7 separate regions of the Homo sapiens genome follow, and all the other regions are linked to region 3. The links are contacts of gene promoters, found by promoter capture Hi-C in blood cells and fetal thymus (Javierre and others, 2016). All regions are on one chromosome and are shown on one strand. Each heading gives the region's core, a stretch centred on a gene start or on the middle of the fragment in contact. The rest is flanking DNA. Distances are from core to core; before and after follow the strand shown. Region 1 overlaps CPEB1 (cytoplasmic polyadenylation element binding protein 1). Region 2 overlaps CPEB1 (cytoplasmic polyadenylation element binding protein 1). Region 3 holds the start of C15orf40 (chromosome 15 open reading frame 40). Region 4 overlaps LOC105370934 (a long non-coding RNA gene). Region 5 overlaps AP3B2 (adaptor related protein complex 3 subunit beta 2). Region 6 overlaps CPEB1 (cytoplasmic polyadenylation element binding protein 1). Region 7 overlaps CPEB1 (cytoplasmic polyadenylation element binding protein 1).

Evidence for each region. Contacts are between HindIII fragments. The CHiCAGO score rates a contact against its expected background, and 5 or more counts as called.
Region 1: a contact is called between a fragment that was not itself captured here and the fragment with the promoter of C15orf40 in region 3, in 1 of 17 cell types (total CD8 T cells). The highest score is 5.0, in total CD8 T cells.
Region 2: a contact is called between a fragment that was not itself captured here and the fragment with the promoter of C15orf40 in region 3, in 16 of 17 cell types (naive CD4 T cells, naive B cells, total CD8 T cells and 13 more). The highest score is 27.5, in naive CD4 T cells.
Region 4: a fragment that was not itself captured here is called in contact with the fragment with the promoter of C15orf40 in region 3 in 2 of 17 cell types (M2 macrophages and M0 macrophages); the score reaches 5.5 in M2 macrophages.
Region 5: a contact is called between a fragment that was not itself captured here and the fragment with the promoter of C15orf40 in region 3, in 7 of 17 cell types (non-activated CD4 T cells, total CD8 T cells, naive CD8 T cells and 4 more). The highest score is 11.0, in non-activated CD4 T cells.
Region 6: a contact is called between a fragment that was not itself captured here and the fragment with the promoter of C15orf40 in region 3, in 14 of 17 cell types (non-activated CD4 T cells, naive B cells, naive CD4 T cells and 11 more). The highest score is 10.0, in non-activated CD4 T cells.
Region 7: a contact is called between a fragment that was not itself captured here and the fragment with the promoter of C15orf40 in region 3, in 1 of 17 cell types (naive CD8 T cells). The highest score is 6.1, in naive CD8 T cells.

What each region holds. Positions count from the first base shown.
Region 1 is chr15:82,607,997-82,611,970 of GRCh38, forward strand. All of the region lies in intron 3 of CPEB1 (cytoplasmic polyadenylation element binding protein 1), which reads right to left. Among named protein-coding and RNA genes, the nearest start is that of CPEB1, 37 kb to the right of the region's middle. The HindIII fragment of the contact is 1,624 bases long and covers 632-2,255 here.
Region 2 is chr15:82,548,766-82,552,418 of GRCh38, forward strand. CPEB1 (cytoplasmic polyadenylation element binding protein 1) reads right to left here. Exons shown (of 13, transcript NM_001365242.1): 10 at 695-893. Among named protein-coding and RNA genes, the nearest start is that of RPS17, 10 kb to the left of the region's middle. The HindIII fragment of the contact is 1,847 bases long and covers 665-2,511 here.
Region 3 is chr15:83,009,536-83,013,629 of GRCh38, forward strand. C15orf40 (chromosome 15 open reading frame 40) reads right to left here and starts at 2,104. Exons shown (of 4, transcript NM_144597.3): 1 at 1,962-2,104; 2 at 702-828. The coding sequence starts at 2,072. LOC124903542 (a long non-coding RNA gene) reads left to right here and starts at 2,206. Exons shown (of 2, transcript XR_007064742.1): 1 at 2,206-3,524. RefSeq lists an enhancer at 2,282-2,341. The HindIII fragment of the contact is 2,628 bases long and covers 969-3,596 here.
Region 4 is chr15:83,362,706-83,366,554 of GRCh38, forward strand. LOC105370934 (a long non-coding RNA gene) reads right to left here. Exons shown (of 3, transcript XR_932546.2): 3 at 2,333-3,096. Among named protein-coding and RNA genes, the nearest start is that of BNC1, 80 kb to the left of the region's middle. The HindIII fragment of the contact is 4,157 bases long and covers 1-3,849 here.
Region 5 is chr15:82,674,283-82,678,468 of GRCh38, forward strand. It overlaps AP3B2 (adaptor related protein complex 3 subunit beta 2), which reads right to left. Exons shown (of 27, transcript NM_001278512.2): 11 at 3,823-3,885; 12 at 3,389-3,521; 13 at 2,992-3,101; 14 at 2,179-2,355. All of the region lies in intron 3 of CPEB1-AS1 (CPEB1 antisense RNA 1), which reads left to right. Among named protein-coding and RNA genes, the nearest start is that of CPEB1-AS1, 29 kb to the left of the region's middle. The HindIII fragment of the contact is 1,210 bases long and covers 1,798-3,007 here.
Region 6 is chr15:82,564,552-82,568,554 of GRCh38, forward strand. The region is part of intron 4 of CPEB1 (cytoplasmic polyadenylation element binding protein 1); the gene reads right to left. Among named protein-coding and RNA genes, the nearest start is that of RPS17, 26 kb to the left of the region's middle. The HindIII fragment of the contact is 428 bases long and covers 2,237-2,664 here.
Region 7 is chr15:82,623,119-82,627,293 of GRCh38, forward strand. It overlaps CPEB1 (cytoplasmic polyadenylation element binding protein 1), which reads right to left. Exons shown (of 13, transcript NM_001365242.1): 3 at 4,075-4,175. Among named protein-coding and RNA genes, the nearest start is that of CPEB1, 22 kb to the right of the region's middle. The HindIII fragment of the contact is 2,646 bases long and covers 1,340-3,985 here.

The DNA of each region.
Region 1 (3,974 bases), core at 194-2,693, 400 kb before region 3:
CACTGAGCCAGACAGTTTACAACTCTGCAGTATTCTTCACTTCTTGTTTGTACAGAGCCTCAAGGTTAACCAGGAGAGAGAGCTTAGGGCCTTCTAATCTAATGCTTTCTTTCAAGCATGCAGGTTAGCCTAGATTCCCAGGAATATATTGAGTTTTTTATAAAGCCTCATATTTCATTCCCCAGCCTTTTAAGCTTTTTTGGTTAGCCTGTTGAGTTCCTAAACTGTTGCCTAATGCCTCAGGCACCTGGGATATTTAATAATTGCCTCTGATTTTTTTTTTTAAACAAACTTTCCCTGGGAAATGGGAAATGGCTGGCTGTACTTGGTGAGCTCGGAGGTAGGTCAAATACAACCACATAAGTGGGGCCTTGTGTGTAACCATGTAAAAGGTCAAGTAATGACAATTCGTTGAGGATGGGGCTTGAGCTCCAACTGTTTTGTCCTTTCAGTGGCTTCCAGGCTGCTAATTTTTGCTGTGATGCAGGTTGCTGGTTTTCAGGGTTGTAGTAGAGCTAGGGAGGAAGGTATGAAAATAATACAAATTAAAAGGCCACAAAGAATGTTGTTCTTACCAAGATTCAGCTATCTTGTTTTTAGTTTTTAAACAAATACTCCCCAGATTTCTGCAAGCTTTTGGTTTAATTTCCAGAGTTCTGACAAAGTTTATTGTGACAATTTTTTGCTAGTGTTCTCATTGGTTTTTATGTAGGAAGAATTTCAGAGGTCCTTATTCTGCCATTTCACTAATATTACCCTGATCATTGATTTTATTTTCATTTATTTATTTAATGTATAGAACAAGATGACAGTATCAGGAAGGAAACTGTATACTTGAACACTATAAAACAACTAGAACAGACACAAGATATTTCAATCTACAAAAGAAGAATACACAATCTTAAGTGTATATGAAATATTCTCCAGGACAGACCATATGTTAGTTAGGCCATGAAGTCTCAATAAATGTGAAATGGCTGAAATCATACAAAGTACATTCTGCAACCACAAAAGAACAGAATTAGAAGTCAGTAACAGAAGGAAAACTGGAAAATTCTCAAAACGTGGAAATTAAACAACATACTCTTCATCAATGGATCGAAGAAGAAATCACAGGGCAATGAGAAAATACTTTGAGATAAAGAAACACACCATACTAAAACTTACGGCATGCAATGAAAATAATACTTGGAAAGTTGTAAAATCCTATGTTAAAGATTATGCTGAATGTCGTAGCTCACACCTGTAATCCCAGAACTTTAGGAGGCTGAGGTAGGAGGATCACTTGAGCCCAGGAGTTTGAGACAGCCCAGGCAACATAGTGAGAGACCCTGCCTCTACAAAAAAAATATAAATTAGCTAGGCATGGTGGTGCACAACTGTAGTCCCAGCTGCTCAAGAGGCTGAGGTGGGAGGATTGTTTGAGCCTGGGAGGTCGCGGCTGCAGTGAGCTGTGATCACGCCACTGCACTCCAGCCTGGGCAACAGAGCGAGAGCCTGTCTCAGAAAAAAAAAAATAATAACAATAGTAATTAAATATCAATAACCTAACATTCTACCTAAAGAAACTAGAAAAAATAAACACAAAGCAAGTAGAGGAAGCAACAAAGATTAAAGTCGAAATAATGTCTAGAAAAACTATAAAAAAAAAAAACAGAAGTTGGTTCTTTGAAAAACATCTGCAAAACTGATAAACCTTGAGCTAGATTAACCAAGAAGAAATGAAAGTGGGTACAATACTACCAACCTTACAGAAAGTAAAAAAGAATATAAATTACTATGGGCTGGCTGCAATGGCTCATGCCTGTAATCCCAGCACTTTGGGAGGCTGAAGTGGGTGGATCACCTGAGGTTGGGAGTTTGAGATCAGCCCAATCAACATAGAAAAACTCCGTCTCTACTAAAAATACAAAATTAGCCAGGCATGGTGGCGCATGCCTGTAATATCAGCTACTTGGGAGGCTGAGGCGGGAGAATCGCTTGAACCTGGGAGGTGGAGGTTGCGGTGAGCCGAGATCACCCCACTGCACTCCAGCCTAGGCAACAAGAGCAAACCTCCGTGGCAAAAAAAAAAAAAAAAAATTACTATGAATAATTATATGCCTGCAAATTAGAAAACATAGGTGAAATAAATTCTACAGCCAGAAATTACCAAAACTAACTCAAAGAAACAGACAATCTGCATACGCTTTTAATGAACAAAAAGCCTGTATTAGTCATCAACAAACTTCCCAGAGAATAGTCCAAGACAAGAAAGCTTCGCTGGTGAATTCTACCAAAAACCTAAAAAAGAATAAATACCAATTATTCACATGTACTTTTCCAAAAAGCAGACGAGGAGGGAACACTTTACAACTCAGTCATGAAGCAAGTATTTCCCTGATACCAAAATCAGGCAGAGACCACAAGAAAACAAAATCATAGACCTATCTGTTTATTAATCTAAATGCAGTGGCATCTAAGATGGATTACACACTATGACCAAATGGGGTTTATCCTAAGAAGACAAGGTTGGTTCATTATAAGAAAAAAAATCAATAAAATATAATATTAATAGAACAAAAGTAAAAAAAAATCACATGATCATCTCAATGGACACAGACAAGTATTTGATGAAAATCCAATACCCTTTCATGATAAAAATATTCAATAAACTAGGAATAGAAAAAAACATCCTCAGGCCGGGCCCGGTCACTCACGCCTGTAATCCCAGCACTTTGGGAGGCCAAGGCCGGTGGATCACCTGAGGTCAGGAGTTGGAGTCCAGGCTGACCAACATCATGAAATCCCATCTCTACTAAAAATACAAAAATTAGCCTGGCATGGTGGCGCACACCTGTAATCCCAGCTACTCTGGAGGCTGAGGCAGGAGAATTGCTTGAACCCGGGAGGCAGAGGTTGTAGTGAGCCAAGATCACGCCACTGCACTTCAGCCTTGGGGACAGAGTGAGACTCCAGTCTCAAAAAAAAAAAAAAAAAAAAAAAAAAAAAAGAAAAAAAGAAAAAAAAATCCTCAACTTGATAAAGGGCTCCTACAAAAACACCCACATCTAACATCATATTTAATGGTGAATGAAGTCTGCTCTCTTCACTTCTATTCAAAACTGTACTGAAGATTTTAGCCAGCACAATTAGGAAGGAAAATGAAACAAAAGGCATCTAGATGGAAAAAAAAGTAAAACTATCTTTATAGATGATACACCCAGAAGGCATGATCTTAGATGTAAAAAATCCTAAGAAATCACACACACAAAAATCCATGTACAAAAACCAGCTCTATTTCTATACACTAGCAATGAACAATCTGAAAATAAAATTAACAGTTTGACTTACAATAGCATGAAAAATAAATATACTTATGAATAAATTGCAAGACTTGGACACTGAAAACTGTAAGAAATCACTGAAATAAATTAAAACAAAAAAAATCCCCAATTCATGCATTAGAAGACTTAATATTGTTAAGATGGCAATAGTAGGCCAGGCACAGTGGCTCATGCTTATAATCTCAACGCTTTGGGAGGCTGAGGCAGGAGGACCCTTTGAGACCAGGAGTTCAAGACCAGCCTGGCCAACATAGCAAGACCCCATCTCTACAAAAAAATAAAAATAAAAATTAGCCAGCAGCCACGGTGGCACACACCTGCAGTCCCTGATACTCAAGAGGCTGAGGCAGGAAGATCACTTGAGCCCAAGAAATCACGTCTCAAAAAAAAGAAAACCCCAAAAAACAAAAACACGATGATCTAATAATTTTCATCTCAATAAGTTTAAAAAAAACACACAGTAAATCAAACCCAAAGAAAACAATAGGAAAAAAAATAAATGACACATAAAAGAAATGTATAACAGAATCGGGGGAGGGAGGGATCAAAGCCAAAAGTTTATTTTAAAAAAAAGATTAGTAACACAGACAAAAAAAAGCAAACGTAATGTTAAGAAATACTGGAAATTTTGTAATCCCAGCACTTTGG
Region 2 (3,653 bases), core at 338-2,837, 460 kb before region 3:
GTATTGGTGAGTACATGGTGCTCCTTCCTGACCAGATTCAGTGTGGGTGTGAAGACTAAGCATTTGGGGAGGTGGGTTAGCCACATGTTAATCACAGAGGTCAGGCTCTGCTCCACCTCCATACCTCATCATTGACATTTTGCCAGGACTGGCGAATTGACCTCCTTTCTCAGAGGAGCTGATCAAAACCTAGTGGTTAGGCCCACAGACTTCTGAGTTAGGAAAGCACAGGCCACACTCTGTTGCCTGACTCACTCAGAAAGTCCTCCTCCAGCCTGACCTGGTCTCTGACCTTAGACAATGCCAGAGCTTTTCAAGAACTTTTAATAAAAAACTCCAGGCAAGTTCAGAGAATTGCAGCCTTTTCATGAAATAGTACCTGTTGTCTGTTCCAAACTGGTTTCGCTGTGAACTCTGAGCTTCCAACAAAGTTCCTACCTCACTCTCACTTCTTATCACCTCCTGTAGTCTCCAATAGCTTTTTCTCCCACTGCGTGGGAGATGGTGGGTAGAGGGCTAGATACAGAAGGGCCAGTACTCGTGACTTGTCTAGAAAAAGATATTATGGTGCTGGTATATGCTGATCTGCAGACCTGGGTCAGGCCTCTCTCCTCACTCCCATGGGGAAGTATCACAATCTTGGTCTACTCCCAGGGGCCAACCAAGCTTTCGCACACAGAAGTGGGACACTTACCAATGGGATACTTGTGCTTATCTGTGTCAATCCCGGCATACACCACTCCACCAAATAGGTCGTTCAAGATGGCTGCCAGGGCCTCAGCATTTAGCATTCCATGCAGAGCACCGACAAACACCGTCCTGCTGGGGTCAAGCCTCTGAGATGGGCTCCGGACAAAGTTACTGTCGGCTAATACCCAGGGGATCACCTGCACCTGAAAACCACCCAAAGGTGTATCAGCCCTGGCAGAGAGCCACAGAGAGAGAGGTGCTTGCACGGCAAGGTACGTGCTCTGGAGATACTGAAGCTAAGCTAACGCCCTTACAGGGGTGAAAAGGTGCTGTTGCCCAATCTCAGGCACACAGGCGTCCAATAAACCACCCTGACTCCACCCCAACTGGAGTTGAATTTTACTGAGTCCATGTGTCCAGAATGGTAGAAGTGGACACAGTACTCACTCATGCTGGAGAGTAAGCAAAAAAGTACCACATGGCCAAACCCAGGAGCCCAGCATTCTATTTCAACCTCCAACTGTGTAGTTCCAACAAAGGGCTGTGGACACTGATGAAAAGGGCATAATCTGAAGTCCTCAAGAAAGGAAGGACTCACAGAGAAATTAAAGGCTAGGATCCTGAAGGACAGAGGGGTGGGAGTGCTTACGATATTTGTATGAGATGGTTACTGGCCCAACCTAGCCTTCAGAGGGTTTGTGCCAGAGCAGTGGAAATGACTGGCGAGAGGTTGGGTAGAAAGTCACATACAAGATCCCTGGAGTCTTAAAGGGCTGGGGCTGACCATGTCCTTTGCCTCTGAATCTCCTGAACCTGGAACAAAACCTTGTAGAGCAGGTGGAGGAGTCCAGAATGAAGTGAAGATCTAAAAATATGTCTTGAAGCAGGAAGAGATCTGAGGCAGAAACCAGCAAGGAGGCAAAAACAGTAGTTTCAAAGGACAGGTGATTAAGACTTGGACAAGGCTGGTGGCAACGAGCAGAGAACAGGCCAAGACCAAAGAGATTCTTCAACAGAAGAGTCTGCAGTACTCAGACAGCATAAGCAGGATGGGCAAGCAAGGAAGAATCAGGCCTGGTAGGTGCTGGGCCTACACGGTCTTGGGATGAGAGGACCTGGCAGAAGTTACAAGAGGGGAGCCAATTTCACTGGAAGATGAAAAAGCCAATTTTGCCCACAAAAGAGTTTGGGATTACAGGACATCCCGAAGAAGGATCCCACAGGAAGGTGAGGCTCAGGTAGGACATGAGGCTAGAAAGGTGAATCTGGGTCTAAAGGTGAGAGAAGCCACAAAGTGAGTCATTTATCTGAACTAGAAAAGAAGAAGGGAGTCAAAGATTGGCTATATTGGCTATGTTGGTGCTGGCGGGGAGAGGAACACAAAGGAAAAAGAAAAGTAGAGAGGAAGGAGAACTGCATCAGCCTATAGCCAGTGAATCAAAGAAAGATTAAATCCCTGTAAGGTGATGGGAGGGAATGGGAGACAGGATGGTGTCTACAGGGGCACTGAGGAGGAAGGGGAAGGGCTCTGTGATATGCATATGGCCATCTCTGGTTGTGAAAGCAGGAGGGGAGGAAAAAGGAGCATGTTAATTAAGTCCTAGAACATACTAAGGTGGGAAGACTACACAAGCTCCAGAGAATAAAGAAGCAGAGAAGGTAGGGAAGCTGTGGGTCACTGTGGGCAGCCAGAGGATGAGCCTGCCCTCTCTCTAACACAGAACAAGAGCCAGCTTTGTTACATGGATTTATTTTAAATCTAATGTGACCATCCCAATAAAATAGGCATTTCTCCTCTTACCCTATAGATTTTTTTAGAGAAGCTTTAAGGTTTACAGTAAATCTGAGCAGAAAGTACAGGGATTCTCCAAATACTCTCTGCCCCCACACTTGCGTGACTTCCCCACTATCAGGATCCCGCATGAGAGTGGAACATTTTTTTATACTGACCCATCATCCCCACCGAAAGTCCATGGTTTGCATCAGAGTTCACTCCTGGTGTTTCTTTTACCTTCTATGGGTTTGGACCAAAGTATAATGACATGTATCCACCATATACAGAATAGTTTCACTGCCCTAAAAATCCTCTGTGCTATGTCTCTTCATCCCTTCCTGCTAAACCCCTGGCAACCACTGATCTTTTTTACTAAAATAGGCATTTTAGTTTCCCATCTTATAGAAGAGAAGAGGAAACAAAGTTTCAGAGATATTAAATATCTAGTCCAATGTCACAAAAGTTGTGTGCTCTCAAATCCGATTTTACCACCGCACTGATTCCTGAGCTCAAAACTTGCTTTGACAAGTGGTTCTCAAACACTACCCACTAGAACCACCTGGGGATCTTTATTCAGTTGGAGATTCCTAAATTCCACCCAGAGTGATTCAGTAAGTCTGGGATAAGGCCCAAGAATGTGCAATGAGATCCCCAGGTGAGATAAACTCGTTAGAGACCCATGCTGCCAAGGATACATAAGGCTGATATTAGAAAAAGCGTAGGAAGAGAGAATCTTATGGGGAAAACCCACAAAACTAAATAAAGCCCTGAATAAGAATGAAGAAGTGACCCACAGGTGGGTGTGGGCTAAAGAGGAATTCACCCCCACAGACTGGGAGGTCACAAGGCACAGGAAGGGCAGGACCAGGGAAAAACAGCTGTAGGTTTATCAGTTAAGTCCAAGTAGAGAAGTTTGCTGTTCTCAATTTCATTTCTAAGACAAGAGGTTTGAAACCAAAGTGTTGGCTACAAGAAAGAAGAGCAGAATAAAGACGGGCAGACAGTTTGATTACCATGGGCAGGCATGCGCATGTGTGCATGCACACACCCCATTAAGTCCCAAAGGTTGCTTTTTTTTTTTTTTAATGTAATTGAGAGGATACTGCTATTTTATTGTGGGACAAGAAGAGCCTTCTTGCCTCAGCAGGAATACTCCTTGCCTGCAGCCTGCCTATCCACCTACCACAAG
Region 3 (4,094 bases), core at 854-3,353:
AAGACCTTCAAAAGAATTTAGAGCAATGGTTTTTGAACTTTTTTTCCTTTAGAATCCCTTCCCCCAATTTTCTCCAGAATCCCAATATGTAAAACAAATGTAAACAGAGCTAGTCAGGAGCCCTGTCTGCCTGGCCTCCTCCTTGCCCAAAGCTGATTCCTGAGGCACCTCCAGCACTCCAGAGAATAGCCTGAAAGCCTCTAACTTAGTCCAACGATCTCATCTGACAGATGAAAAAACTGGACCCATGAATGTTTTATACTGTTTTGATTTAAAACAAATTCGCACAGGAACTGATCACGGGTCTCAGATCTCAAGTTTTCTCCCTCTCCTTAGGCCAGTGATCATTAAACTACACTAAAATGTCTCTTCTTTCTCTGGCCAATGTCTCCAGTTTTGGAACAGGACAAACTAAGAATAATCCAGACTACACACAAGTTTCCATAACTGTCCTTTCTAAAATACTGTATTTTTAAAGAGGAAAATATACAATGGTTTTCGTGTAACTTGGCATGATTTAAAGATATATTCACTTTAAGACACCTTTACATTAGAATCTAGAATTTTAAAATGGAGAAGCCTCTAACTGCAGATGTGAAAAATCAACTGTCATAGAATAAGCTTTCAGCTAACCAAAGCAAAGGAGGGCTGTAGGAGACACCTGATTCACACTTGAATCCCACCCCAGTGTCCAGGTATACCTGTTACAGCATTTTGTTTGGAGCCAGGTTTTGCATGGATGGCTATGGTGACGCATCCTTTAGGATCAACTGCCACAGGACCTAAGGGAGGAAGTGGTCTCTCTGGTTCCTTGCTCTGGCTTTTACCCTAAAATGACAACCACACAACTTTACAGGTTACAAAATATTTTCCCACACATTTAATTTGATTCTTCCACTACCCCCTTTCACCCTTAACAGACAAACTAGGCTCATCAGTGGTGTCCAGGGACTTCTGGCCACCTAGAAAGCTTTTCCCACAACCTTCAAGGCTCTACTCAATTTTCCCACGAAGGGTTCCCATCAACCCAACAGTGTTTTTTCCCCCCTTGCAAGAAAACCTAACTCTGGCTTCTAAACCTTAATGCTTGCTCCTCCCTCTGCTTTGTATTTCCAATTCCTTGGGGGCAGGGATCATTTATTATTCATCATTGTATCTCATGCAGTCGGAGCTAATAAATGTTGGTGAAAGTGTGTATGTCTGCATGTTGCGGGAAAGGGAGGAAAAAAAAATAGTGCTTGATATTTAAAGGCCTGTTATGGGACAGGGGCTGTGCTAGGAACTTTCGTTCAACAAATATGTAGGCAATGGATATGTAAAGATGAAAAGGTACATGGTCCTTGCTCTCAAGGAGCTCGGACTGCTGCGAGGGAGAAAGAACATACAAAATTATAATACACTGTGCTAAGTGCACCGATGAGATAGGCACAGAACATTACCCCACAGGCAAATCAGCATTGGGGCACTGGAGAATGCTGCCAGCAGGAGGCAGTGCTTGAGCTGAGTCTGAGAAACGGACTGGGGTTGGCCAAACAAAGATGGTGGAAATGGGAGTGCTGTATTCTTGACAGAAGGGGTGCGATCAGCCAAAGCAAGGGAGGAGAAAGCAGAATACAGCCTCCTGGGGAAACGCAGGTCATGCCGCTGCGGGAACATGAATTGCTGGACTGGGAGTGCGGGTAGGAGGCCAAAGGTCAGCACACGCAGCCCAAGGAGAGCTCGGCTGCCGCCGGGCCCAGCGCTCAGAAATCACCAGGTGGACGGCAGCGCAGCCTACTGAGGCGGGGCGACGGCAGCAGGCCGCAGCTCTGGGGGTGGCGGCGGCTGTCCTGAGCCCCGGAACTGAGAGACGGCAAGCCGCTGGCAGTGCCTCCACTCACTCCCGGGCCCCGCTTCTCCCGCGCTCTTCAACAAGTACCCCTGAGGCCCACCCCTCTGCCGCCACGGGACCTGCTACTGGCCTTGGTCGTCGCACCAGCCTTCTTAGGCATCTCGGCGCAAAGAAGCCGAGCGGAGCCCCGAGTATTGGGTGTTGCCCGAAGGTGCCTCAGCCCGCTGCGGAGCCGCAGCATCCCCGCCTGGGAAGGCGCCGGAAGAGCCCTCTGCGCTTGCGCAGGTAGCCGGCAGGAGCGGCCCCACCGCCCGGCGCATCCGCTCTGGCCAGAGGGCGACACCTTAAGGCCGGCGGGAGCGAGTCTCGTGGCCGCAGAACATGCGCGAGTCTCTTTTGTTCTGGAACGGGCCGAGCCCCAGGAAGTGGAGCTGCGGAGCTGAGGCCTCACCGTGTCTTGGCCCACCCTGCTCAGCTGATAGGAAGGTGTGTCACCTCTTTCCTAATCGGGGAAAGAAAGGTATTGTCACTTCTCAGAATTGGAGAGCGCGGCAAGGAGTGCACAGGGCCAGGTGTCTTCTCGCTCCCACAGCCAAGCAGCAGATGCAGAGTCCCACGCGCTGCCTGTGGCCATCAAGTCGATATAGAGCCTCGTGGCGGCTTGGCCCTTGTGAATCTTCCACGTATCGATGGCGCACCTACCTTGTGCCAGGCGCAGCGGATCCCACAATGTAAAAGAAGAGGAAATACACTGCGACATGTGATATGGAGAGACATGAAACAAATCAGCAGAGGCAAGATCATGGAGTCACTGAAGGCTTTCAAGCAAGGGATTATTAGCAGCCCAATTTGCTGGGTTTTAGAAAGACACCGGCTGCACTGTGGCCGACAGAGGAAAAGCCAGAGACAGGGAGATCCGCCCCCTAAATGGGAGAGGGTGGCCTGAACTAGAGTAACCGCAGGGAGGGTGGAGCGCTGATCATTTCAAGGATCTTCAGGAACTGAAATGATCAGAACTTGGGAATGACTGCATGTGCGAATAAGGGGGAAAAGTCAAGGAAATGCCCAGGTTTGGGGCCCAAGGAACAGGTTTGGGAGGCCGAGGTGAGGAGTTCAGCTTTGGACATAATGAGTTTGAGATGCCCACAGGACATCCAAATACAAATGTTAAAGGGGTAACTGAATATATGTGACTGGAGTTTGCGAAATCAAGGCTGGTGATAGAGATTCTGGAATCTTCTGAAAGCAGATGGCAATTGAAGCTATGGAAATGGATGAGAGAGTGTGTAAAGAGCACGAGGGCCCAGGTTAGAACAGCAAGGGCAGGTAGAGAAGTCACCAAAGGACACTGACCAGGTAGGAGTACGGTGTAACGGCAGCTAAAGAAGGGCGCTTCAAGAGGGAACATCAACAGTGATGAACACTCTGGAGAGAACATGTCACATGTAACGACTGAGAAGTGGCCACAAGATTTAGAAATCAGGGTGGTGGTGGTGACCCGGGCTACAGCAGTTTTAGTGGAGAGAAGGAAATGGAGATAATTGTAGAGAATAATCCAGTGACTTCACTGTGAAGGAGCAATTGGTATCTGGAGGGGCACATGACATTCAGAGACTTATTTTTATCATATTTGAAGATTGGTAGGAAAGAGCCAGGAGAAGAGAGGTTACAGCAGAGGACGGTTCCTGAAGAGGTAGGATCTGAGCTCAAGTAGAGATTGAGTTCTCTACAGGAGGCCTTAGACACTCCTTCCTTCCTAAGGGAAAGCTTAGGTGGACATGTAGCTGTGTTTGTAGGTTTGGTGATGGGAGGTGGAATTTCTTTCATTAACTAAGGCGGGGGAGGTGTTGAAGGTATATTGGGACTCTTGAGAATGGCAAAGGGCTGACTATTGCAACTCACCCAGCGGTAGACAGTTAAGGGAGACCGTGAAATCATCTATGATCCCAATCTATAGTTACCTTATTTTATTTTTGTTTATTTTTGAGACAGGGGGATGGGAAGAGCCTGTCGCCCAGGCTGGAGTGCAGTGGCGGGATCTCGGCTCACTGCAACCTCCGCCTCCTAGGTTCAAGCAATTCTCCCTGCCTCAGCCTCCAGAGTAGCTGGGACTACAGGCGCGCGCCACCACACCCATTTTTTGTATTTTTAGTAGAGACGGGCGTTTCGCCATTTCGCCCAGGCTGGTCTCGAACTCCTGAGCTCAGGCAATCCACCCACTTCGGCCTCCCAAAGTGCTAGGATTACAGGCGTGAGCTAGCGC
Region 4 (3,849 bases), core at 604-3,103, 350 kb after region 3:
ATTGCCACCCTTTCCATCTCCTGGACAACTTCCCTTGATTCTTTAGGTATAAATTTAAATGTCCCTCCCTCAATTTAAAACCCTTCCCTAAACCCAGAGTCCATGGAAGTGCCCTGAGGTCTCAACTTAAATGTCTCTCCCTCTGGAAACCCTTTCCTAAACCCAGAGTCCACGGAAGTGCCCCGAGGTCAAGTCCCTCCTACTTACTTTTTGTACTTCCAGGTCATCACACTTAACACAAGGTCTCTAAGCTGTGAGCTCTGAGAGGAGGATGCAGTCATTCATTGCAGTGTCACTAGCATAGTGCCTCAGTAAGTAAGAATATAGACCTGAAGGAAATAGGCCAGAATGTTGCCAGTAGTTGCCTCTAAGTGGGGCAACTCATGCAGATTTGTATTCCCTTTTTTCAAGTTTTCTGTATTTTCCAAGATTTCCACAATAATCATGTATTACATCATATTGTTATGATAGCAAATAACAATAACCCTTTAATTATAAAATATCTGGAAAAGGCATAAATATAGGCGACATCAAACGTTTTCTATTTTAACAGAACAGTGGGATTTCACTTGCACTTTTTAGGTCTTTATCTGGGGCAAAACATACAAATGCATCTGAATTACAAACCCATGAGAGAGTGTGGTGGGACCAGCGGGCCATGCAGAGCTGTGTCATGACATTATGCCAGTGAGCTGCATATACCAGGGAACTTCACCCTGTTAGGGACCAGGCTTTTCATCTCTCTTATTTTCAGCAACTCTCCCAGGGCTGGAGCAGAGAAGGTGCCTACTTAATAAATGTTTGCTGAATTCCTTGATAGCAGTTTTAGAGAAGAAGCTAACTTAAACTGACCCACAGAAAAGTGGAATGTATTTTGTGCCATTGTTCTGGAAATTTAGAGATGCACAGTAGGAAAAATTTCCCTCTGCCTTGTAATAGCACAACTGGAAGGTGTATATGTCTAGTTATACCCCATTTATCTAGGGATAAGGTTTAAAGTGACCTCAATTTTCCAGACTATGACCGAAAGCAAAAATAAGCCAAATAAATAAATAGGAGCGAGAGAGAAACAAACAAACAAAAAAAGAAGCCTGTGAGCATCCTAACAAGTTCACAACGGCCGTCGAGTTCATGACCTGGAAACCTCCAAGAGCTTCACACAGCCTCCCTCAGAACATGCTTACAGGTACCTTGGACACAATTCTAACAAGCACAGCCTTGATCCTAACAAGGGTCCCATGTCATCACATACTAGGGGCGTTTTCCAAAGGGGCGCGATACCTTCCACGGTGTAAAGGCACTGGGACTTTACTGATGGCACAAGGTAAGCAACAAACATCAAAACTAGAACAGGCCTTTAAAGAACTTCTAGTGAAGTCCACCCCCTCCTTTTACAGATGAAGAAGCACAGTTAGCGAGGTTAATGGCCCCAAATCACACAACAATAAGGATGAAACTGTGACATACAATAAACACACAAGTAAACAAAAACCTCCCAGGCCCCTGACTCCCTGTATCAAAGCAACTGTAGTCAAGGGTCATCATGACCAAATGAAAGGAAGGCAGAGGAGTAAGTGCTATATTTTAGAGTGATTCCCAGCAAACATTCTTTTACAATTTTTAATTGGTTCTTAAGAATGATTATCCTCAGTTATCTGAAGTACTGAATTCTGGCAAAGTTCCACTGCCCGATATTGCTGGACAGAAAAATAACTCCTTTATATATATTTCCACCTATTGTTGCAAAATGGACTCAGTACTCTAGCTGGCTATCAGCTACACACACACACACACAGACACACAGACACACACACTTTTCATATCATCCCATTGAGCAGATAGCGTGCTTTGTGAAGGCAGGCAGACTTGTTCATTTCTGTACAGTGCCTGGGGCAGTAGTTTTTCTGGATGAATAAATAAATGAACAAATGAATGAACCTCAAGATTCAGTAGTCAAGCTGTCCTATTTAACTTTCAACACAGCACGCCCATGTCTTGAGGCCAATTCTTAAAATCCATATGGTAGATGCATTTGGTATGACAGGAAGTAATTAAAACAAACTGTAAGCATTGAGGGAGCGGTTGTCAACGCTTATTTTGATAACCAACAAACAATGTGGAAACTGCATTTTTCCCTGTAAATAGGGGCATGCTGAAAGATGGAAATGCAAAAAAAAAAAAAAAAAAAAGAAAGAAAGAAAAGAAAAACTTCAACACACTATGTAAATCCTTGGAGGGAAGCAAGAAATCACACAAAGCATTGATCTTTTACTTTTTTTAATGCAAGATTTACACACATGTAGTTTTGTGTTTCTTTGCTAACCCCTTTTCCTCCACGGATAACTGTTAAAATCATTCTCCCACTTAGTTCCCTTATTTAGTACCTCCTTAAAATTCAAGCTATTACTTCTTTTAAGGAGCAAAATTTGCAGATATTATCCTACTCATCTGCATCTTCTCCGAGACTATAAATTATCAGGATGCACCTCATGTCTAGACACCCGCAGGTGTCATTTGAATCCCTGATTTAAGCTGTTTACACCCCACGTTGTTTTATTTATCCTTCAACATCAGGTCTCTGTTTAATTAAAATTTACTTTGGTCCTCCTGGCGCTCGCCCGCACTATCCCCATAGCAGCACAGAAGTGGTTTTGCTCTTATTAATTCCACTTTTGCCTGTCTGCTCTAACCCAAGAAAGCTCTGCCCGCCCAGATCCCCAGCTTGAGTGTTGGAGTCAAAAACCACAAGCTAGGGCCAAGGATGCCTCCCGTTTACAAGCTGTTCTGCAGGCTAACGCTGATCTTCCCCAGACGCTAAATCATAATCTTCGTGTTTTTCGTATTTCACATTCTAGCCACAATTTCAACATCCCATCCCCGTGACATTAGGGAATGATAAATCAGCAGGCGGGACAGTTCCCCTGTACAGACTGGTACGGGCGGACCGGGCTCTGCCAACGCCCTCGCTCCTGCCAGATGTCGGCGCCCGCGGGGTTAACCCTTTCCGGCAGCGCAGCCTTCCCCTGCGTCCGGCCGCTTCTCCAGGCAGCTGTTTTTAAAAACGTCCGCCTCCCAGGTTCAAGAGCGAAACTCCGTCTCAAAAAAAAAAAAAAAAGTTCGATAGCTTTTATTTCTTTTCAAACTTTCCTCCTTTTTTCCCCCTTCTCCCTCCTTTCCTTGCCTTGCCAGACCTCAGTGTACTTGAAAGCAAATAAAAATGGTATCAAACCACCGGCAATGGGAATATATACTTCTCTTAAATAAGTGAGTCTGCCTTAAAACCATTTTGCTCCTTCGTCTTCACCGGATATTACTAGAAAAGGACGAGGGTGAAAGAACTTATTTTAAGGTGGAGAAATATTTAGTGCTAATTTTTTAGTTATTTGCTATTTTTAAGTAGCTTTATTGAGGTATAATTTACATATCAATGAATGCATCTATTTTACCAGTACAATTAGATAGTTTTTGAATATATTTATAGAATTGTGCCACAATAGGAATAATCTAATTTTAGAACATTTCTATCCCCTCCCCCCACCAAAAACCCGCAGTGTCCATTTGCAGTTATTTCTCTCTCCCACCCCAGGTAACCGCTAATTTACCTTCTGTCTCTATAGGTATGCCTTTTCTGGGCATTTTATACAAATGGAATCATACAATAGGTAGTCTTTTGTGTCTGGTTTCTTTCACTTAGCCTAATGTCTTTGAAGTTCAGTGCTAATGGCTTTTATTGTATGGCAAAGCCCCTTAGAATGGCCAAACTGTCCCAGAAGACTACATAATCTAACTGCACTAAGTGTGCTCTCATAGTACACACTGCATAGACACGTGCCCTAAAATAGGGTGAGA
Region 5 (4,186 bases), core at 1,153-3,652, 330 kb before region 3:
CTCCTAGTACCCCAAGGACTCCCCCTTCTTTACCACTCCCAGAAGAGGCTGGGAAGAAAGGAGAAAGAAAGGGAGGACAAAAATCTTTATTGAATCAAATAACCATTCTAAGGGGCCTGCAAAAACTCACTTGCAGGTGAAGGGCGCCCTGGAGGTGAGTGTCCATTTGCCTGAACAGCCTACTCTGGGTTCCCTGACAGGGGTCATTCCTAGGGGAGGGTTCAGCTGTATATACCCACAGCTCGCTGTGCCAACCCTGATGACAGCTGTTACTGCTGTGTTTAAAATGTTTATTTTTGTCCTGTTTCTCCTACTTGGCTGTGAGTATCTGGAGACCTGTAAATGTGTCTCACTCATTGTCATATCCTCAGGACGCAGCACAGTACCAGGCAAATAGTAGGCCTACATGTTAAATAAATGAACAAATGCACATGTAGCTCACAGTAACAACTTGGGGGAAATGACATGTGGACAGGCCCAGGCTTATGAAAACATGCCAACCTCACCATCCTGGGGTTTAGGACTCTGGCTCAGTGCTGAGCATGTCAGACTCCCACCTACATATATGTTAAATAAATGAACAAATGCACATGTAGCTCACAGTGACAACTTGGGGGAAATGACATGTGGACAGGCCCAGGCTTATGAAAACATGCCAACCTCACCATCCTGGGGTTTAGGACTCTGGCTCATTGCTGAGCATGTCAAGACTCCCACCTACCTGGGTGGCTCCCCACCCAGGCTGCTTCATCTTTTCAAACATTCCTCCCACTTGCTCCTTCCTCCCACCTGAACAAAGGAAGTATACAAATATTTTTTCAACGATTGAACGCTTCCCCATGGTGCTCTTTCTCCCTCTAACTTCTCTCTCTCCCCCTCTAACTTCTCTCTCTCCAATCTGCTTTGCCCACAACACTGATAACAAGCTCAGGGTCACATGGTCCAGTGTCTCTCCTCCTTCCACCTGAAGACCTAAGGTTTGGAAGTTACTTTTGATAAGGCTAGCATATTTAATTATACAGACTCAGTTGCCTCCACATGTTGCTGCTGTCCTTTGACTCCTGATTACAGTCACAGCACTTGGTGGCCCTGCCTACCTCACCTTGAGCCTCTGGGGCTCACTCTGGCCACAATGGATCAAAGAAGCCACTGAAAAAGATAAGTGCCACCATCCAAAGACTCCCACGCACAGTGGACATGGCAGGGATGCTACAGTCTCCAGGGGATATCCCTGCTATAAATCTGTAGACCCCAGCCACCTAGCCAGAGGTTTTGCTTCAAGGATTGGCAGAGTCTTTTTATAAAAGGGCCAGAGAATAACTATTCTAGGCTTTGTGGGCAATACAGTCTGTTGCAACTAGTTAACCCTGCTGTTGTAGCACAAAAGCAGCCATAGGTAATTTGTAAATGAATGAGCAGGGCTGTGTTCCAACAAAACTTTATTACAAAAACAGGAATAGGCCAAATTCAGCCTATGGGCAGTAGTTTGCCAATCCCTGTCCTGCTTAACTGAGTGGGAGAGTGTGGAAATCGTCATGGTGTTTGATGTCCCTGACACCTTGAAAAGCTCAGCACATTATGCTTCATTTTAGGAGAATCTCCTGGAACCATCTCAGGAGATGCCAGACAGCTAGGAGGCTCTGAACACCCTGATACTACAACTTAGTTGAGCCTCATCCTTGGCTGTGTATCTCTTATAACCTTTCACCTTGGGAATGACAGTGGCCACCAGCACCACCCAAGCCCAAGCAGAGACTCACCCCCTTATCTTTGGCACAGACTGGCCAAGCATTGTCAAGCTTTGGAAAGAAGCACAGACCACATCTGGGATGCATGTTCTCCCATCAGTACCTGCCACTGTTGGGCCCTTCCCTTATCCCAATCAACTGTGGTTCTTCACAGCCCCAGAGTTCCAAGGTGGCAGACAGGACTCTTGTACTAGCAGACTGGAGGTCACAGCTTCATAGGAGAGTCTCTTCAACAGTGACCACCAGCACTACAAGGTCTTTGTGGGCACTGGGGTAGCATTGGTTATGTGGGCAGACCAGCCACCTTCCCTGATTCTTCTTTTCCAAAATAGGAGCTAGAGTTCAGCCCTGCCTAGGGAGGGCCAAAAGAATACTGTCTAGGGAGTTTCTGGGGACCAGAGTATCTGGGGGGTCATCTCTTAATCTTTACCTGTTTAGAGTTGGTCAGGTAGAGCTTGGCTGCCAGGTTGATGACCTGCAGCTTGACAATATCCTCCTCTGCTGTGAATGACTTGGCCATTTTTCTTAAGACATCAGGTGCAATCCTGGGGACATGCTCACAGTACTCTCCGATGAGCCACAGGATGCTGGCTCGGGCCATGGGCACCTGTGGTTGTGGGAGAGGAGTGAAGATGGGTAAATACGGGAAAGTGGGTGGGTAGGATTGTGGACTTCCAGGGAAACAGCACTCCTCATCTGTGCTGGCCTGTTGTATTATGGGTTCTCTGGAAATGGGAGTTGGGGGTGGTGAGATAGAGAGAGGTTAAAAGGTAGACATTTCCTAGACAGCATTTCCCCTCTTCCCTAGGGCTTCATTAGCATAGAGCTTTCAAGACCCTAAGTCAGTCATGATGTAAAAGATTGATTTTCTGGATTCATTGTACCCTCAGTACTTTATTTCCATGTTACTCTCCAGAATCTTTGGGAATGCCTTGTTTAGATGTTTCAGCTTAGCAGTGCGATAGAAAAACACAAGATTTGTCACTCAACCATGGTTGGCTAGAGCTTTAGAGAGAAAACAAGAGTAGTAGTAAAGTCCATCGTGCTCATTGAGGGTCTCCAAAGGGAAAGCAAATCAGGGGTAACAAGGTCAGGGTCACATGGTCCAGTGTCTCTGCTCCTTCCACCTGAAGACCTAAGGTTTGGAAGTTACTTTTGATAAGGCTAGCATATGTAATTATACAGTCTTGAAATCATGGGGAGGACCTTGAAGTGGGGAGTGAAAATATGGCTTCTCCCTCACCTGGATGTTGTCTGTAAGCTTTGCCAAGTGTTTGATGATCTCTCCATGTTGTGCTGGCTGCATCTGTAGCAATTTCTTAATGACGACCACTGACTCTGCAACCACAAGCTCTACAGAACAAAAATGAGTGTGTGGACCCCAAGACAGTCAGATGGCCACACTCAGGTGGACAGACACACCTGCAGTGCCCCAGGCCCTTGGCTCTTTCTCTCAACCCCCTTCAGTTCTCTAGCAGCCCTCAGAGGTGTAGGAACACTTGGGCCCTGATCAAGACAGACAGACCAATGGATACACATTGTGTCTAGGCAGACTGGTGGATATCCAGTGGCCAGCAGAGTCAGACCTGCAGGCAGACACCCTCTGATCATCACGGTTAGACACTCAGGGAAACACTGACCATCACGGTTGGACAGCAGCTGCACCAGGCCATTGAGGCAGGTGTCACGGACTCGGCCGATGTTAGTTGCACAGCGTCCAATGGCCTGGATTGTGGCTGCCACAAAGTCCTTGTCCATGCTGCGAATATAGGTCTGTGGGATATGACAAAGAAATCCCTCAGTGACTCTGCAGGCTTGAGGGTGACCTTCAAGAAGGCTGTGGCCTTTCATTTTATGGCTTATCATGCCGGTGACTAAGACTTGGGAAAGGGGGTGACAACTCCACCCCCAATCCAGTGATTCCTTGGCCCAAAGCCAGCCAAACACATTGGAACGGGAATGTAAGATAATAGTTTCTCCAGCCTTGGGCTCATAAGAGGAGGTTTACCCACCAGGGCACAAGGATCTGATGGGCCCCTCTCCCAGGCCCTTCTGGCTGGGAGCTGGCCTGTACCTGGAATTCCCGTAGGACAGTAGGAATGTTGGTCTCATTGGCCAGGTTGGTCAGCACTTCCAGCTGCAGGGAGGGTTGGAGAGGCAGAAAATGGGTGGGTTGGCCAGTGGACTTTCTGTGCTTTCATTCCAAATACACTTCATAGACCAGAAAACAATCCTCATGACAGCCCTGCATCATCCTCACACTGATGAGGGAATTGACAGGTTATGAAACTTGTCTAAAAAGCAAGAGGACCAGTTTGCCTCTTAAGTGGATTCCCTACACAGTATGCTTACAGTATGACCATGTCACCTCCCTACTGCATTGAAAACTTAAAGCTTCCTATTGCTTTCAGGATGGAGACCATCGTATTCACCATGGT
Region 6 (4,003 bases), core at 1,201-3,700, 440 kb before region 3:
CAAAGGGCTGGAATTACAGGCGTGAGCCACTGCGCCCAGCCTAAGGACACAATGTTGACTTAGAGTGTAATACAGATTTAGGGGAATAAACCTTAACTCATCCCTACCCAGCCCATCGCCAAAACAGAGGTTTAAAAACCAGTGACTCACCGCATCACATCTGCGACAATACTTCTTCCCTGAGTCTCAATTTCTTCAAAGAGAAAAAGGTTGAAGAAAGCTCCTCTGCTTGAGGAGGGGCAGGGTGGAAATCACTCTGTCCTAATCAACCCTCCCCAGACTCTACTGGGATCTTCAGGGCCACTGCAATACACTCCTACATTCAAGTACAGGAGCAAGAAAGAGTGTCTCACTGAATTATATACCAACCACATAGAAAAACGGGGAAAGGACTTGGATTGATGGCTCAGAAAGGGGCAATGCCATCCTAGAGAATAGGATCAGGGTGCCCCAGAATTAACACGTGGGATGTCAGCATCTCCATGCATCAGTTTCCTGCAAATATTAAATCAGAAGGGATATACTGTAAATTTGACTAGAAGATACCAAGAAGACAAGAGGCCTAGAACTTGCCAGCTGGTTTGATATTTCCTTCAACCCACAGAACAAGTGAATTTTGTGGAAACTGCCACCCATGGTCAGATGCCCTAGAGTGACCTAATTGTACCTCTATAGGGTCTGGCCAGGCAGTTCTCTGAGTGTCTACAGATCAAAGGAAGGAAAGCAGCAAAGACAATGGAAAGAAAGCAGCAAAGCAGCAAAGACAAAGGGAAGTGGGGGGACCTCATTTCAAGAAAGAAAACCTGTCTTGCTCCCAGCTCATGAGACCATACCTGCCCTATGTAAGGTTGCTGAGTACGCAGCACCGATTTCCACCAGCTGGGAATCAGAAGGAAAGGAGCAAAATAGCTAGCGTTAGACTGTTCCCATTTATATTCAAAGCCACGAGCATACCTAACTGGAAAGGCATTCTCTTTAAGCCACACAAACTAAAATCCAGTGGAAATGACAGGTCCCTTATAATGCAGGCCAGTGTCTCATCTCAAAGTCCACTCCCCATCATGGGGCACACAACTTCATAATTCCAAATGTCAAGTATTAACCTAGATGGATTAGAGGAGGGGGAGGGGTGGTGAGAAGTCCTAGAGTCAATCTCCAATAACGGCCAAGGCCCTGACCTCTTTGCTCTGTTCTTTCCTGGCCTCCAGAACACAAGGGATCATGGAAAGTCTGAGGTTTACCAAGTGCCTCCAGCTCTGGTGTCCAAGTGTCCAGCAAATTCCTATCTTCTAAAAATGGGTAAGACATTGTGCTCTTCCTAGAACAGACGTACCCATCCCCATTCACATGCTGGCAGGAAATCAGCTACAGACATCTCTCAGGGAAGTCATGGGGAGGAGAGGACCTGGCAGAGGGTTCCAGTTCATTAATGCTACCTCAGAGGGTATAAGAGACCAAATCAGCAGTGATATTTTTAGACTGATTGTTAATTTTCTCTACTTTCACCCTTCTATGCCAGCTCCTGTCGGTTTTACAGCTGAGTCACTGTTCAAATTTTCGGAAGCCTTCCCCAAGAGTACAAAGGCACCTGGAGTGTGATGGCAGCATTAGCAATGGCAACAAGAGCCTGGCACTGAATGCCTGCATTATAAGACCATCTGAGCTTGAGCTTAGCTGAAGGAGAGACTAGCCCCAAGACATGATGGTCAGATATTTGTTATCTAATGGGAATAGTCTAATGGGGGAAAAAATCTAACGGGGAAAATCCAGACCAGGAGCCATTATTTCTAGCCTGTGATATAAGGCCGTATACCTGGAACCCTTCTTCCCTATCACCATCCTTGGTTCTAGGTTGCTTACTCAGGATCTCTCTGAAGGAATAGGAAGGGGGGAGAGTAGCATTCATTCCATGTATGAAAACAGACCACTCTGCCTGTGACCCCAAATCTGCAACTCTATACCATATCTCTACTGTGGCGGTAAACAGAGTGTGGACTTCCCCCCGACTGTGGATCCCACAAGTTCAAGTTAGTGACAAACACAGCCCTTCTCCCCAGTATAACTCCCAGTCTTGATCATCAGGCAAGTTCCATTACCTGTAGAAAAGACATATTCATGTCCCTTGTAAGGTCAGCACACATCCTGCCCCTGTCACTAACCACCTCAACTTCTTTCTCACCTAGGAGGCCTCCCTGGCCACACTGCTTCCCAGGTTCTCCCTCCTCTCTGCACTGAAAGCTTTCCCAAATAGACTACTTGACTCCACAATACAGCTCATGCTCCACTGTATGATGAAAACTTTGTATAATTACATCACCGTCCCCTAGAAGCTACAGGGCCCAAGATACTGATCTTTGAAGAATCTGTCCATCCAGCTAAATCAACACAAGCAGGAGGCAGAAGAATGGGAGAGACCTTGTCTGAACTCTGCAGTTAAAAAACAACCAGGATAAACACAGTGGCTCAGCACTCATCATTCATTCAAAAAATATGTATTAGACAGCCATTAGCCAAGCACTGTTGTACTGCTGGGAATATAGTATTGGAGAACTGGGAGTTGAGGAAGATTTACAAGAGACCTGGTTGGGCCGAGGAAGTCCATGTTCCACATAAGAGAGACCTAATCCCGTTCTGAATGTCGCCTCAGAATGGTTGTTTGGAAGAAGCTTCAGATGAAAATTGCTTAAGACTCCCCACTCATCTTAGGCTGATGTAGCCTGCAGATCAATGGGGAGCCTGCAAGTGACACAGCACAGGGAACATTCCATTCACTGATTAGCAGTTAGGGTAGAAAACCAGAGTGTGGGCCAGGCACGGTGGCTCACATCTGTAATCCCAGCATTTTGGGAGTCCGAGGCGGGTGGATCACAAGGTCAGGAGTTCAAGACCCACCTGGCCAAGATGGTGAAACCCCGTCTCTACTTTAAAAAAAAAAATTAGCTCGGTGTGGTGGTGGGCACCTCTAATCCCAGCTACTCAGGAGGCTGAGGCAGAGGATTGCTTGAACCCGGGAGGCAGAGGTTGCAGTGAGCCAAGATCGCACCACTGTACTCCAGCTTGGTCGACAGAGTGAGACTCCATCTCAAAAAAAAAAAGAAAAGAAAAGAAAACCAGAGTGTGAACAGGTTAGTCCTCAAGAGACTTCTAAAGGGGAGTGGCAAAAAACAGACATGTCCTCTGGCAACCTTAGACTGCACATCTGGTCTGCCCACTGGGCTTCTGTACAAGGCATCATTAAGAGAGTCCTTGTTTCCAGGTCCCCCACAGTAGTCTCAGTCACCTCACTCTTCTGCTGCATAATGCTGCACACAAAAGAGTCGCAAGGGGGAAGGCAGGAAGACAAATCCAGCGGGTGGTACAGCTGATAAGCTGAGACTCAGGGATCAAGATGGGGCTGGAACTGTCTACCATATGCCCTCACCTTCAGAGATCTCATCAAGGGAGCACATCACCTCTAGCTGAATAGCCCCTATAGTAGTATATGGTTACTTTAAGTTTTCTCACCCAATATGTTAGAGTTCTGCTAACAGGACCACAGGTGTAACAGGAAGCATATGAATTTTGTAACCAGAGACCTGGGTTAGAATTCTGAGCCTTCCAGGAGTTGTGTCACTTTGGGCACTTTGTAACCTCCATGAGCCTATTTCCTCATCTGTACAAGCATTAAAATCATGTGATGTACTTAGCACAAAAATTAGTCGATAAATGGTGGTTATTAGTCACTCCATGCCCCATTCCAGGATACTGAGGACAGTTTCCACAGCCCTTCTGTTCCACTACAGATCTTAAGACATTGCAAGCAGGACAAGGGTAGCCCTGGACATGAGAAAGGGTAGCACTGGGGTATGAGAAAAACGCACTTATAACACTCATCTTGCCCCCAAAGTCTTCCTCCCCATCAAGGGATAGTGCCTCAGGGTAGGCACAGTCTAGAAGAGAAGGACCCCACAAAGTGTTACATCCAAGCCCATGCAGGCCTTGCAGGTACAATTCTCAAAAACAG
Region 7 (4,175 bases), core at 1,413-3,912, 390 kb before region 3:
ATCTACTCAACATCCAGTTAAGACTAAAGTAATTTTAATTCTCTTCAAAGCCTATTTCAAATGCTGCTTTAACCAGAAGTGTTTCCTAGTTCTCAAACCAAACCAACCTCTTCCTGACCCTATCACAGCACTTTTCCAATGATGCTTTATCAACTGGGTTATGCATGCAACTAGCAATGTGAAACACTGTGTTAGGAAACACACCATTTGAAAATTTATTACAAAATGTTTGTTTTAGAAGAACTAGTGGGGAAAAGCATACAGAAAAAAATTACCCAGCCAGGTGCGGTGGCTCACGCCTGTAATCCCAGCAGTTTGGGAGGCCAAGGCAGGTGGATCACTTGAGGTCAGGAGTTCAAGACCAGCCTGGCCAATGTGGTGAAACCCCCATCTCTACTAATACAAAAATTAGCCAGGCGTGGTGGGGCATACCCGTAATCCCAGTTACTCAGGAGACTGAGGCAGGAGACTCACTTGGACCCGGGAGTTGGAGGTTGCAGTGAGCCGAGATCACGCCACTGCACTCCAGCCTGGACAACAGAGCGGGACTCCGTCTCAGGAAAAAAAAATTACCCATAATTTTTTTCTGCTATTACCTACCTTCACTGTCACATTTATATCATTCCAGTGTTTTTCTATGCATATATATTTAAGGCCATTCTTTTTACACTTTTTTTTACACCTGTTTTACACTTCGCTTTTTTTCATTTCAGACACTGTAGTTATCTTTCTTTGCCATTAAGTAGTCTTCTATAAACATTATATTTTATGGTACATGATATTCCATGGTATAGCTCTCCTATCATTTACTTAACATTCTGTTGCCAAATTGTCCCTAGTTATAATGCTGTCCATAAACAATCTTAGGTTTTCATAATTCTGATTATTTCCTTCAAGGAACAAAATTACTTTTGATCAGAAGCTACAAGTTTGGGTTATTTCTTAAGGTTCTTCATAGAAAAATATATATCCTAGTTTACTTTCTCATTAATCACAAGGTTGGTATTTTTGCTGGTGACCACAGAAAAAATGCTCTCTGCTGTAGGCCAGGCATCCTTGTTTCACCATTCGAGAATACAGGCCCACAGCCCTGAGCTGAATCACAAGTGGAAAGCAGAGAGAGTTCACCACACATGGGAGGGGCTGGGTATACGTGAAAGGCTCAAGAACATCAGCTACCTTTGACAGAAACCTTTCCTAGAATTCCTTGAGTTCCCTTAAATCTGCAGTATTGTCTTAACATCTGAGCCCCATAAGAAACCTGTGAGGCAGGTTGAGCAGGTACCATTCTGTCCTGCAGCTGAGAAAACTGACCTCTTTATCTCACTGCCCAGGGTCAAGCTTAGAACCCAGGTTTCCCAATTTCCTCAAGATCTTCCTCCTGCTTCTCTTAGAATGTTCTAAGAGGCTGAGAAGGAGCTGAAGAGCCCGAGAAGTCTTTAACTTGTACTTCGGCTACTGACCCTGGGCAGAGTATAATGGTAACAACATCGTCACCAGACCCTGGCATCTTACCAGTGAAGTCACTGGGCTCCCTGGACAGCTGCAAACATACACTCTGGAAAGCTCCTCTCCCATCAATCATGGGTCCTTTCCCTGAAGTCCAACACCTAGTATTAGCTGAAAAATATTTTCCTGTAAACTAGAAAAGTTTCCAGCATCTCTGAAACAACCCAGTGAGGTTTAAGTCATTGTTGAATTGTTGAGTGTCATACTTTTTTTTTTTTTGGCAGAGGTGGGCAGGGGTCCTGCTCTGTCACCCAGGCTGTAGTACAGTGCCACAACCACAGTTCACCGCAGTCTCGACCTCCCAGGCTCAAGTGATCCTCCCACTTCACCCTCCAAGTAGCTGCAACTAGGTGCACACCCCACATCTGGCTAATTTTTCTATTTTTTTGTAAACGGGGTTTCACCATGTTGCCCAGGCTGGTCTCAAACTCCTGGCTTCAAGTGATCCACCTGCTCCAGCCTTAATTACAGGCTTAAGTCACCATGCCTGGCCTGTCATTCTTACTGGGACATAATACATGCAATTTTCTCAAAGGAGAAAAACAGAACATGTATTAGAACTAAGAAAGATGACTCCCTGAACTTTTAACTCAGCGTAAACTAAAAGAGAATTGGGCTAGCTCATGACTTACATTTTTCTTTTGTACAAGTCAGAAGAGACAAAAACCACCCCCACCCCCAAGTATGCCCTTCTCTCATTTGCCTTCCTGTACGACAGAAGCAAATGCCACAAGTTAGTCACTCCCTTAATATGCCTCTCCCTCAAACATTACGCTATTTACTGCTCACATACTCCTGCATTTTTGTGGGAATTATTTCTAACGCCAAGTTAAAAAAATAAATAAAAGAATTTACAACTAAAAACAGTAGTTGTCCTTTGGTATATGTAGGGAATTGGTTCCAGGACCCCCAGAGTATACCAAAATCCGCACATACTCAAGTCTTGCAGTTGGTCCTGAGGAACCCACCTATACCAGAAAAGTCAGCCCTCCATACGTGTGGGTTTTACATCCCTTGAATACCACATTTTCCAGCTTTGGTTGAAAAACATCTGCATGTAAGTGGACCTGCACAGTCCAACGTAGTGTTGCTCAAGGGTTGACTGTAATTATCAGTCCTTGTTTTGAGAATCCCCATTGTGGCTAATTGTTTTCAAGGACCATTTTTAAAAATTAAACATATATTCTTTCATCTAAAACAACTGAAACAGGCCAGGCACAGTGGCTCGTGCCTGTAATCCCAGCACTTTGGGAGGCCGAGGTGGGTGGATCACCTGACGTCAGGAGTTTGAGACCAGCCTGGCCAACATGGCGAAACCCCATCTCTACTAAAAATACAAAAAATTAGCCAGGTGTGGTGGCGGGTGCCTGTAATCCCAGCTACTTGGGAGACTGAGGCAGGAGAATTGCTTGAACCCAGGAGGCAGAGGTTACAGTGAGCTGAGATCGCACCACTGCATTCCAACCTGGGCGAAAGAGCTAGACTCTGTCTCAAAAAAAAGAAAGAAAAACAAAATATAAAATAAAGGCCGGGTGCAGTGGCTCACACCTATAATCCCAGCACTTTGGGAGGCCAAGGCACGCAGATCACAAGGTCAGGACATCGAGACCATCCTGGCCAACATGGTGAAACCCCATCTCTACTAAAAATACAAAAATTAGCTGGGTGTGGTGGCGCGTGCCTGTAATCCCAGCTACTAGGGAGGCTGAGGCAGGATAACCGCTTGAACCAGGGAGTTGGAGGTTGCAGTGAGCCGAGATCACACCACTGCACTCCAACCTGGCAACAGAGTGAGACTCCGTCCCAAAAAACAAAAAGAAAGAAAGAAAAAGAAAATATAAAATAAAATAAATAACTCAAACCCAGAACACTTCAACATTCTTATAATGGGTTGCAACTCCCACAAAATTAAACACCATTAGGACATCCACACCTCTTGGAAAGAGTCAACTTCAGGGGATGCTGCCCTCTATCTCCACTATTCCTTGGAGTATCCAATAGATACAGAAACTAAATGCGTGCTGACTCATGTTTAAAAGCTGTTAAAACATTCGAGAGCTACACTGTCCAGTGCAGTAGCCACTAAACACCTGAAATGTCCATGTTGAGATATGCTTGTAAAATCCACACTGGATTTTGAAGTCGTAGTACTAATAAAAAAAATCTCATTAATAGTTTTCATATTAAATGTTGTCATATTATAATATATTGGGTTAAATAAAATATTAATTTCATCTGTATCTTAATTTTAACATGGCTACCAGAAAATCTGTAACATATGTGATCCACATTATATCTCTTTATATAAATACTTGTGTAATCTGTGACCTTTTCTTTTTTCCCCAACCTTTCTGTGTATCATAAAGTAGGTTTACACATCCTAATCAAAGGCAGTCTTCACCCAGAGAGGGATTCAATCCATAAACTAAACCACAAAAAGGCAAGTATTGCCAGCAACTCAACATTGTTCTTCACAAGCTTTCCAAGGAAGACCTCTTACATGCACTACTTAGAAGCAGATCTGTACAGATGCCTACCACGTTCAAGTTTTCAAACCTAAATCACCTGGCAAATGATCATGAATTCCTCGGTTTATAGGTGTAGTGCAGACTCTACTGAAATCCAGAGAATTATCCAATATGGCATTTATCCTTCGAAAGATATTG